Linked DNA regions of Homo sapiens: region 2 is linked to region 1. Evidence: promoter capture Hi-C in 16 types of primary human blood cells and fetal thymus (Javierre and others, 2016). All regions are on one chromosome and are shown on one strand. Each heading gives the region's core, a stretch centred on a gene start or on the middle of the fragment in contact. The rest is flanking DNA. Distances are from core to core; before and after follow the strand shown.

What was found. Contacts are between HindIII fragments. The CHiCAGO score rates a contact against its expected background, and 5 or more counts as called.
Region 2: a contact is called between a fragment that was not itself captured here and the fragment with the promoter of GTF3A in region 1, in 6 of 17 cell types (erythroblasts, M0 macrophages, M1 macrophages and 3 more). The highest score is 7.4, in erythroblasts.

What each region holds. Positions count from the first base shown.
Region 1 is chr13:27,423,369-27,429,089 of GRCh38, forward strand. It overlaps GTF3A (general transcription factor IIIA), which reads left to right and starts at 1,251. Exons shown (of 9, transcript NM_002097.3): 1 at 1,251-1,570; 2 at 3,724-3,824. The coding sequence starts at 1,370. RefSeq lists silencers at 1,076-1,345, 1,356-1,415, 1,516-1,595, 4,669-5,049 and enhancers at 1,686-1,755, 2,706-2,925. The HindIII fragment of the contact is 2,756 bases long and covers 1-1,535 here.
Region 2 is chr13:27,962,577-27,968,116 of GRCh38, forward strand. It overlaps CDX2 (caudal type homeobox 2), which reads right to left. Exons shown (of 3, transcript NM_001265.6): 2 at 2,294-2,439; 3 at 1-793. The coding sequence ends at 539. Among named protein-coding and RNA genes, the nearest start is that of CDX2, 4.0 kb to the right of the region's middle. RefSeq lists enhancers at 3,206-3,897, 3,898-4,589. The HindIII fragment of the contact is 4,180 bases long and covers 915-5,094 here.

The DNA.
Region 1 (5,721 bases), core at 1-2,500:
GAACTGGCGCAAGAGAAACCATTTTAGAATTCCGGAGTTGTGGGAGGGATGAGTGTAGAATTCTCCCATCCATGGACAGGGGCTAGAGTGGCAAATGAAGAAAGCAACAGGTGGACCCAAGGCATAGACACTCTCACAGCCCCGTTATCTTGAGACGGAGGATGACACAGGCGTTATCAACTTTCCCACTTTCAAGATGAGCAGACTGAGGCAAAGGAGTGTTTATGAACTGGAATACTCAGTTCATAAGCACTGATGTTAAGCCCTGGCTTGTTTCCAGAACTGCACTGCTGTGCAGGGACCTGTTCATCACATTCCGACAAGGGCTTAATGATTCGGAATAATGCAGGATGTGAAAAATATGGATCTGGCGAACATCCCCCAAGTCATCCTGCCAGTTATCTGTATCCAAGGACATTTTTTAGGCATGTGGTCCTCATAAACTAAGATACTCATATTCATTCAGGCCTCTCAAAAGTGCTTCTCAGGTTTTGATATGCACTGAATCACCTGGAGATTTGTTTCAAGTAGGTCATCAAGGCTCTAGGGCAGTGTTCCCAAACTTTTCCTTTTTTTTTTTTTTTTTTTCCAACCACCTGGTCAGTTTGCCGGGGTGGGGAAGGGTAGGATGGGGAGACATCTGTATTTATTCTTTTAGAGCTCGGGGTCTCACTCTGGGCTCAAGCGATTCGCCCGCGTACCTGGGACTACAGGTGCGCACTACTGTGCCAGGATAGTGGTTCCCAAACTTTTCTGCGCATTGAAATCACCTAGGAAGTTTCCAAAAATACTGATGCCTGTTTCCTACCCCCAGAAATTGTGATTTAAGTGGTCCAAGTATCCTCTAGGCTTCGGGATTTTGTAAAGCTCTCCACGTGAATCTGAGCTTAGGAACCTCTGAACTGGGGCTTGCAGCAGAAGCACGTAAAGCACGCAAAGAAACGAAACCACACAGGTCACACTAGTAATGTGGCAACAGGCTAACTTAAATTATGTAAGGCTAGTGCTTTCCAGAGTGTACTGGAGGACGGGAAACAAGCCCCATTTAAGCAGTGCCTCGGGATTTGAGTTGCCTGTGAAACGCAGCAGCCTTCTGCCGAGGACGCAGAAACCCCCGCCTCTCATCCAGGGCTGACAGGGCACGGGCCGCGAGCCGCGGCGGGGCCTCCTGGCGCATGCGCGATCTCCCGGAGCATGCGCAGCAGCGGCGCCGACGCGGGGCGGTGCCTGGTGACCGCGCGCGCTCCCGGAAGTGTGCCGGCGTCGCGCGAAGGTTCAGCAGGGAGCCGTGGGCCGGGCGCGCCGGTTCCCGGCACGTGTCTCGGCACGTGGCAGCGCGCCTGGCCCTGGGCTTGGAGGCGCCGGCGCCCTGGATCCGCCGGCCGTGGTCGCCGAGTCGGTGTCGTCCTTGACCATCGCCGACGCGTTCATTGCAGCCGGCGAGAGCTCAGCTCCGACCCCGCCGCGCCCCGCGCTTCCCAGGAGGTTCATCTGCTCCTTCCCTGACTGCAGCGCCAATTACAGCAAAGCCTGGAAGCTTGACGCGCACCTGTGCAAGCACACGGGGGAGGTGAGGGGGGCGAGGCTGCCAACCCTGGGCCTAGGGATGGCGCGTGGCCCCGGGGTAGCCACTGCAGTCGTGGCCAGGGCCGCAGGCCCCGCTGTGCAGCGCGTTCAGCTTTGACATCCAGGACTTGGGGAAGGAGCTGAGGAAGTAGACAGGAAGTTGTAGGACCTTCGTTCTGCGACCTTGATATCCATGGCAGGGGCTCGGGATTTACTAAGCAGTCATTGATCGTGAGTCTCGGCCAGCCAAGTGCCTCCCGTAATCTGCAAATAAGTGTGAGGTTTGAGGGGGCCCACCGCTACTAGACACCTGCCAAACACTGGCCCCTGGAGCTGGTACAGAAGATGGGTTACATGTACCAGGGGTCGTGAAAGCAGCATGTGCTCATTTCTTCGTAACTCCACACTGGAGAGAGCAGTGAGCAAAACAGGCAAACCCAAGGTTTCTGCTGCCATGGACCTTTGTTCCTGGGTCGAGCCGACCACAGGATAGGTGGGAATGACATGCAGTGTTGTGGTCAGGAAAGGCCTCTCTGTGTGAGCCGTGTAAGAAGGAAGGATCTAGCCATGCAGACATTTGTGCTAGGTAGAGAGAACACAAAGGGAGCCTGTGACCCTTGGGGTGGGAGGCAGGTGGGTGTGTTTGGGTGCGGAGATCACCATATGAGGTCTGAGAAGTAGGCCCATTAGGAGTTTGGATTTTATTTTGAGGGCAGGAGAATGTCAGATACCATGATATGACGTGGCAGCCCATGTCACACACAAGTGAGGAAAACGAGGGTCATGGAGGTCAAGGAATCTGCCCAGCTTCCCAGTTTTTGGCAGAGCTAGGCTTCACACTGCCTCAGCTTAAAGCCCTTAATTTCTTAAACCACTGGGCTGCAGTCCATACCTTTGCCCCTTGCACCTCCTCTAATTTATGGGCCACCTTCTCCAGGTGTCCTCCGGGGCCTCATTCCTTAACCTCTCCAGCACTGGAAGGCCGACCGCTTCTTCCTTGAGACCTTCTCTGGTTCTTTTCCTCTTCCTCGTCTGCCCTTTTCGTTGGATCCTCTTCTGCCCTCTGCATGTTCCACCCCGCCCAGCTCCCTCTTGCGGTCTTACATAGCCACCGGCATGACTCATAACATCCTTTATGCTTTGCCCCTCTGCCCTTCCTCTTGCCCGTTCTAGCCTCTAAATTCTGGGCTCTGTATTACCAGTAGATCCACGTAAGAGCTTGCCTTTCCTTTTAGACCGGTGTGCTGTATTTTGGATACTGGCGCTACCAGTTTCCTTAATACAGGTTGAAAAACTTGGAGTCATCTTTGTTGTCCCAGATCTCTCATGCAGATTAATTTGACAAATGTTTATTGAGCCTACTCCACGCCTGCCGCTGTGCAAGGTTCTGTGGCTCCGCCCCTGGTGGTATGTAGCTCACTGTGTTCCTGTTTGCTTGTTTTGCTCCTAGTACTCTCATGGAGGCCTCGGTGCCTCCCTCCTGGACGCCTTGGTAGTATGCTTTTCATAGTTTGATGCACCAAACTGGTTATTTGGTTATTTGGGGTGTGTGTTTGGCTTTTACTATAGGTTCAAAATGAGTCACCCCCTCCCAACTCCTGGGTTACAAAAGGTGGTTGCATTTAGGGTGTTGAGCTGTTTTCTTTGCTTCGCCCTGGCACCTGTGAGCTTTTTCAGGTGTGACACACTTTCCTATAGCTGTGCTTGGCATTATCCTAGCACAGACCCTGGGCTTGTCTGGGATGAGACAGGCCTCCCTCGTTCCTCTGCCCTAGGCTTGCTTTTTTACATGTTAAATCATGCGGTGGTGGGGATCCATGCAGACAAGCCATGCTAACAGCCAGGGCGTCTTTAAGAGGGGGTTGCTGTGAAAGCCTGCTGCCGGGTTGGGAGCAGGTTAAAAATGCTATGCCTGCTTATTTTAAATGCTGTTCATGGAACAAAAATCTGTGTAGTGACTTTGTGAGAAGTTGTGATGTTTATGTTGTGTAACTTTGTGCAGGAACACTGCGTCTTGCAGTGGGTGCACAGCTCTGAGTAGAAACCACCTCTTCATAGGAAGCCTGTGGCCTTAACACTAGGCAGTTTAAGCTTTTAAATAATACCAGAGTTACTAACTAGTGCAGAAGTGACATGCTTTTTCTTTTTTCCTGCTAGAGACCATTTGTTTGTGACTATGAAGGGTGTGGCAAGGCCTTCATCAGGGACTACCATCTGAGCCGCCACATTCTGACTCACACAGGAGAAAAGCCGTTTGTGTAAGTAGAGACCTGTTTTTAGGCTTTTGAAGTGGGTTGTGTTGGGCATATAGACCCAGTAAGAAGATTGATGTTAACTCACGAGATCAGGAATGTGAAGCCTGGCAGGGCTCGGTGGCTCATGCCTGTAATCCCAGCACTTTGGGAGGCGGAGATGGGCAGATCACTTGAACCCAGGAGTTTGAGACAAACCTGGGCAACATGGTGAAACCCCGTATGTACAAAAATACAAAAATTAGTCAGGGATGGTGGTTTGTGCCTGTAATCCTAGCTACCCAGGAGGCTGAGCTAACATAAAATGCTCATGGGTGGGGACAAGCTAAAGTATATCAACACAATGGGATACCCTACAGCCAGGAAAATGAATGCAGATGCTCTCTGCAAAGCCATGAGAAAATCACCAGGGCACTTTAATTGAAAAACCAAGGTGCAGAAGAGTCCTCTTTAGGCTACTTTTATGTGTGTAAAAAAGCTAGGGGGTAGGGGGAGGGGTGAGTAGTGGGTGTTGGGTAGGCAGGAAGCAACTATATTTGTATTTGTTCCTATTTGTAAAGAAGTCTTAAAAGTTACATAACAAAACTAAAAATGTCATCTGTTTTGGGAGCAGTGGGGGATCCTGGCCAAGTAGGGGGTGGGGATGGTAGGAAATGCCATGCAACCAGGAACTACTGGACATGACTCTTCCAGCTCATGATCTAACCCAGACCCTGCCCCTCTTTAGCTGTAGTTCCCCGTTTCCCACTGCTCGCTGGACAGTGCTACTTGGCTATCTCTGTGTCTTCTTAAATTCCATGTGGTAGGCTGGGTGTGGTGGCTCATGCCTGTAATCCCAGCACTTTGAGAGGCTGAGGTGGGAGGATTGCTTTGAGGCCAGGAGTTCAGGCTGGGCAAGATGGTCAGGTCCATCTCTATTAAAGAAATAAATAAATAAAAAATTCCACATGGCCCAAATTTGTCACAGTCAAACTGAGCTCACTTTTCTGTTTGATCTTCTCTCATGTTCTTGTCTGGAGAGGTGGCCTCGCTGTCTGTCCAGTGACCCATAGCAAAGATAAGGCAGCTCCCTGGACTCTCCATTCTTTCTCCCATCCCTTGCAACAGGTGGGTTGCCAGATCCTGTAACTGACCCATCAGATCCAGCAGCCACTGTCTTATCTCGGTCCCTTCCTCTGGCTGGAATGACAGTTTGCAGGCCAGCCCTCTCCCCCAGTGCCCTCCCGTGTGCTTCCCTTAAAGCTGTGCAGTGCTTTCAAGCACGGCCTACATGTGAAATCCAGGTTTCAAGTGTGTCCTACAATGACCTGCGTGATTTAGCCCTTTTCTGCTTATCTTGCCCCATTTGCTTGACTTGCAGGCATGAAGCTGTGGTCCAGCTGTGCTAACTAACCAGCCCCCTCTCCAAGTGTGCCGGGGTCTCTCACGCCCACTTGGGTCTTGTCAGGACTCTTCCTGGCCTGTCCTCCTATCCCATACCCGGTTGGGTTAGATGCCTGTGTCAGGTTTAGAGTGAAGAATGGCAGGAACCCCAGCACAAGAGATGCTTAAACAAGATGGGCTCTTTGTCTTGTGCGACTGAAATACAGAAATACAGAGGCAGGAGCTCTGGAGCCTCTTCTGACTGGTCTCTGCCATCCTCATCTTGGGCTTTAACCTCACTGTGATGCCTGTTTGGGCCCATCTGTCACATAAGCATGCCACTGGCAGGAAGGAGGAAAGGGCATAAGAGGCATGCCCCCTTATTTAGAGACTTTGTGGGGGTTGAGCAGGATGGGCTGGACTCAGCCATGAGCCGCCCTAATTGCAGGGGAGGCCGGAGAGTGCACTTTCTGTCGGCCACCTGCCCAGCTAACACTCAGCATTCTGTCCCTGCAGTTAGGGGGGCTTCTAGGGTCTCTGC
Region 2 (5,540 bases), core at 1,755-4,254, 540 kb after region 1:
TCTGCAGTCTTTGGTCAGTCCAGCTTTCTATCTTAGCTGCCTTTGGCTTCCGCAGTGTAAACCTTGCCTGCCCGGAGGCAGGAGGCCCAGCTGGACCTCCGAGGGCCATGAGCAGGCAGCAGCCATCTTGGCCTCAAGCTTGCCTTTCCCTTGAGTCCCTCTCTCCCCTCGGCTCTAGCCAGAGGTGCAGCCTGCAGATCTAGGAAGAGAAGAGCTGGGGAGGAGGATGAAGGCCTGGTTGGTGTGGTCAGTCCAGGCAATGCTTCTGCCAGTCCGGAATGAAGCCCAGCGGAGGCTTTCTGTCTCCTCAGTGGCAGAAAAAGCCAGATGGGAAAAAGTAAAAATCTGGGAGAGTATATTTCTTGAGGCCCCAAATCCCACTTGTCTTACTCCTGGCTCCCATTTTTCCTCTGAGAGCCAGGTCTGTAGGTCTATGGCTGTGGGTGGGAGGGGAGGGGTCTCTCCTGAGGAGTCTAGCAGAGTCCACGCTCCTCATGGCTCAGCCTGGAATTGCTCTGCCGCTGCAGAACCCGGTGGGTCACTGGGTGACGGTGGGGTTTAGCACCCCCCCAGTTGGCCCCAGAACCCCAGGGACAGAGCCAGGCACTGAGGCTTGCAGGGAAGACACCGGACTCAAGGGCTCTGGGACACTTCTCAGAGGACCTGGCTGAGGCTGGGGAGGCTGTGGTGGCGGCGGAGGCGGCTGTGGTGGCTGCTGCTGCTGTTGCTGCTGCAACTTCTTCTTGTTGATTTTCCTCTCCTTTGCTCTGCGGTTCTGAAACCAGATTTTAACCTAGAAATGGAAAGGTGGAGAAAAGCACATTGTGGTGAAGATGTGAGGGAAAAGAGGAACAGTACCCAGCAGTATCATCAACATCTTCTGCTCCAGCTACAGAACTCCAAGTCCTTCTAGAAGCTTTCCTCGGGCATCCCCATAACAGCCCAACCCTGGATCCATTCTTAGGCCCAATTCAGCCTCATGGGGAAGAGTCTTCCTCCTTCCTTGCTCCCTGAGTTTCTTTTCAAAGCAACTTTTATCTACGTATTTACTGCAAAAGTTTAAAGTCTCAGAACCAAGGAAAACTGAAACTGCAAGGCCCTTTCTACACAGCAAAGGGAGGCCAGTGCTGGGTGGTATACTTCAAATGGCAACCTTTGGCCCCTCAAGGCTAAACTAAAACGTAATTTTCCTCACCTTAGAGCTGAAAATGAGATTTAATTTTGTGGCTTCCTGGCTGTGAAGTTGGCCTGTTTTTCTAGACTATATATATAAAATGTTCATGAACCAAGTCTTGTCCCTCTAGTTTTTGTGAGAGACTGAGTACTTTATTCAGTTTATTTTCTTAGGTACAGTGCTGGAAACAAAGAGAATAGGTCTTTAATATGTCTTTATAGACCCAAATGGAATTCTGGATTAAACTAATACCCTTGGCTGTTTTTCACACTTCTTATATCCCTCAAAAGAGAGAGACAGAAAAAATCAACAACATCAAAAAAAGAGGACTAAAGGTAGAAGGAGGCTTTTTAAAAAAGTACTCCAGGGCCAGGCACAGTGGCTCACACCTGTAATCTCAGCACTTTGGGAGGCCGAGGCGGGTGGATCACCTGAGGCCAGGAGTTCGAGACTAGCCTGACTAACATGGAGAAACCGCATTTCTACTAAAAATACAAAATTAGCCGGGCGTGGTGGCACATGCCTGTAGTCCCAGCTATTTGGGAGGCTGAAGCAGGAGAATCGCTTGAACCCGGGAGGCAGAGGTTGCAGTGAGCTGAGACCGCGCCATTGCACTTCAGCCTGCACAACAAGAGTGAAACTGCGTTTCGACGGTGGCGGGTGGGGGGGCATGTACTCCAGGCCAGGCATGGTGGTTCACACCGGTAATCTCAGCACTTTAGGAGTCCAAGACAGGAGGAGCATTTGGAGTTTGAGACCAACCTGGGTAAGACAGTGAGACCATCTCTGCAAAAAATTTAAACATTAGCCAGTCATGGTGGCTCGAGCCTGTAGTCCAAGCTACTCAGGTGACTGAGGCAGGAGGATCCCTTCAGCTCAGGAAGTCAGGGCTGCAGTGAGCTATGATTGTGCCACTACACTCCAGCCTGGGCCACAAAGCAAGACCCCATCTCTGTTTAAAAAAAAAAAAAAAAAAAAAAAGGACTCCAAAGACGAATGCTTGCATCCTCCTGCTTCAGTCTCTCCACAGATTTAGATGGCCCCTGCAGCCAGATTTTCTAACTCTCATGGTCCTCTGCCAGGCAGTGGCCCGCCCGGAGGGAGCTAGGCGGTCCCCACCTGCCTCTCAGAGAGCCCCAGCGTGGCGGCTAGCTCGGCTTTCCTCCGGATGGTGATGTAGCGACTGTAGTGAAACTCCTTCTCCAGCTCCAGCCGCTGGTGGTCCGTGTACACCACTCGATATTTGTCTTTCGTCCTGGTTTTCACTGTGGAGGAAGGAGAAGTGAGGGCTGAGAACTGCAAGGCAGCCCATCAGTCATGGGTAATGACAAACCTCCCTAACCCAGGGACATTTCTCTTCCTCCACCACCCTGGGGGGCCCGGGTTTGGCTGGTTCCTGCCAAGTCTGACAAGACCCCCCAGAGGGTCCTGTGGGGGGAGGGTATGAGGCTAGTGGAGGCAACTAAACTAACCTTGGTATTAAGTGGTTTTTAAAAATTAAGGAAAGTGAAAACCTCATTCACACAGAAGACAGCAGAATGTAACCACCCTTTCGGTAAACCAAATACAGTACTGGCATATATTTGACACCAAGGGAAAGGGGGCAGGGTGAAGTGGCCGGGATCCTGGAAGCATCCAGATTTCCAGGCCTACCAGAGATGGAAGCCCACCCCGAAAACAGCTGTCATTGTGGGCACATGTTGTAGAGGGGGTGTGGGGGTTACTACTTTGCTTTACTACAAGTGGAAAGCGGGGCTCAGGAGCTGACAAGTCGCCAGAATCATCCCCCAGACACACCAGGCCCATCAGGTGGAATTCTGAGCTGGGCTCTGGCCGAGGGAACAGGCAGAAAACCCCTCCTGCTGGGGACACTTTATACCTGCCCAGACCAGGTTTGGCGTTTGGTACTTTTTCTTTTTTGATCCTCCATTTATTCCTGCTGCAAATCCGGCCAGAGTTATCCTGACCAGTGATCTATGCTCATTGGATTGAGTCAACATATTAAATCCCAGATTGATTGTTTTACTGAAGGGCCTTGACAAATAGTGTCCACAATGTTGGAGCAGGCCCGAGCCTGGCGTCTCCACCAGGTCTGTCTTGGCTCAGCCCTTGGCAGAGCCCTGGCCAGAAGCTGTTCTCTCTGGCTCCGTCCCACTTTTGGGTCTTCTTGCAGCTGAACAGGTTCAATCGCCCAGTGCCCAATCCCACAGAAAGATCTGAAGGGCCTGGGAGTTGCCTGGAGGTGTTTAATGCCCCGCAGGCTGACTTTGTTCAGGTAAAACCCTTTGCAAACCACAACAAAAGCGTCCTGGGAAGATACAGGCCTGATCAGAGGGAGCTCCCCCGAGCCGCTGAAAGGCCAACACAGCCGCAAACAATGCAGGACAAGGCGATCTTATCAAAGAAAAGCCCTTTCAATGCCTTAATAACAACCACATTCTGTTTGAATTACCACTACTGAGCAAATGGCGGCCCCGGCTTTCATCCCCCTCCCCGCCAGGCGCATTAACATAAACACGACCCTGCAGGCGCATTTGAATGGGGCTGCGGCCCCGACCCCGCGCCTGCTATGAAAGTAAAGGGAACTAACGCGACTTTCTCCGCGGTGGACGCTCGGACACGCGTGACCGCCTCAAACCCACTCCAGGCTGCCATTGGTACTCGCCCCTTTTTACAGATGAGGAAATGGAGAATCAGACCGGGTCACGCAGATAGTATCAGGCGGGGTTGGCACCGGAGCCTGGCTGGAGCCACAGAGGACACCTCCGGAGCTGAGGCGCAGGGCAGTTCCCTCAGCCGAACACCCCGGGAGGGAGACTCGCCTGGAAGTGTCTCGGAGCGACCCTTGCTCGGGTGCTGCCCCTTCAGTGTCCCGGACGTGCCGGGCAACGCGATGACCAGACCCTGAGCGCTCTTCGACCCATGCCCCAAGGGCCTTGGAGGCGCCCCACACCCCCTGGGAACCTAGGAGCGGGGCTATGGAGGGGAGGGATGAGAGGGACTTGTCAGAATTCATTATTGACTGCGAAAGTCACCACCCTCTTTCCGGGCCCTAAAAGAGACAATGGCAGGGCTGGGAAGGTGTATATCAAAGCAAGCCAGGCCGCGTCCCCCCCTCCACCCCCACACCTTGACAGATGACGCTCCGCAGAGGAGCCCGGCTCCGGCCCGCGGGCTGCGGCCACCCCACATTAACATCACAAGGGCACCCGGCGCCGACTGCGGCCTTGCCACCTCGGCGCAGGACTTCACAGCGGCCTCTCATCTGCTGACCCCGCGGCCTGGGCTCTGGCGGCTTCCCTCCCGCCCCCTTCCCGGCCCTCACCCCGCGGCCGCTCTCCCGGGACACGCAAAGGTCTTCCTTAGGGCGTGCGCCACCCCCGCCAACCGCGCCCCAGACAGGGGCTGTAGAAAGTGGGTCTTTGGGAGCCAGGATCTGGGAGCCCCTGCTAGGAGAAAGGCGCCTCCTCTAGGAGAAGGGACCAAGCCAAAGCTCTGAGGCTCACCCGAGGCTGATCTGTGGCCTTCTCCCCGGTCGGCGGCATTCCCACCAGGACTCTCCCTAGCATGTGCACAGTGACGCAGAAACCGATGCCCAGAGACAGCCCCCAAAGGGCGCTTTGATTTATACAGTTGTAATTGGCTATAAACTTCTGCAAAGTGCCCATAACCAGCGTGCCTGCCCAATTGGGGCATCAAGGAGCGAAGCAAGAAAAGCGGAAGCGCTGAGGGCTGGGGAAAGACTTTAAAAGGGGCACTCAACTAGGACTCTCCCCACCGCACTTCCTTGCCACCTCTAGGCACACTCGAACACCAGAAGGGGCAGACCCAGAGTCAATGAGCCCCACAGTCCGGCAAACCTAGGATCTTTTTCAGTTGCACACACACACTCACAGACATCCCTGACACCCTTGAAAGGAAGCTTTGGGAGAAATGACCCCTACCTGGAGCGGCGGCTTAATTCCCACCAGGGTTTCCTCCCCGTCTCCCTGCTCTCTCCGCAGACGCCTGCCCCTAGGCTTCTTGCCCCTAGCCTTCCAGCTTTTGCTTGAAATGACCCCTTCACAGGTCAGAGGTTCAGAGACGGGGCGCGCCCCCGTCGCCTTAGCAGCTGGGGCTAGCACCTTCTTCCCAGCGACAGCAGCTCTCCCTGGTCTGCCTGCTCGCTGTACCTTGAATTGGCCCGAGTGGCCAAACCCGGTCCCACACACAGCCTAGCCATCCTCCGACCCCCCCAGGTCACTTCTCTTCTTAGATGGCTCAGATGGGGAAAGAGAGAGCGGAGATAAATGGCCTAGACCTAGCCCAAGAAGGTTCGAGCCTCCCTCTCTCCTCGGCGGCCAGGAGCCACGCAAGGAATGCATGC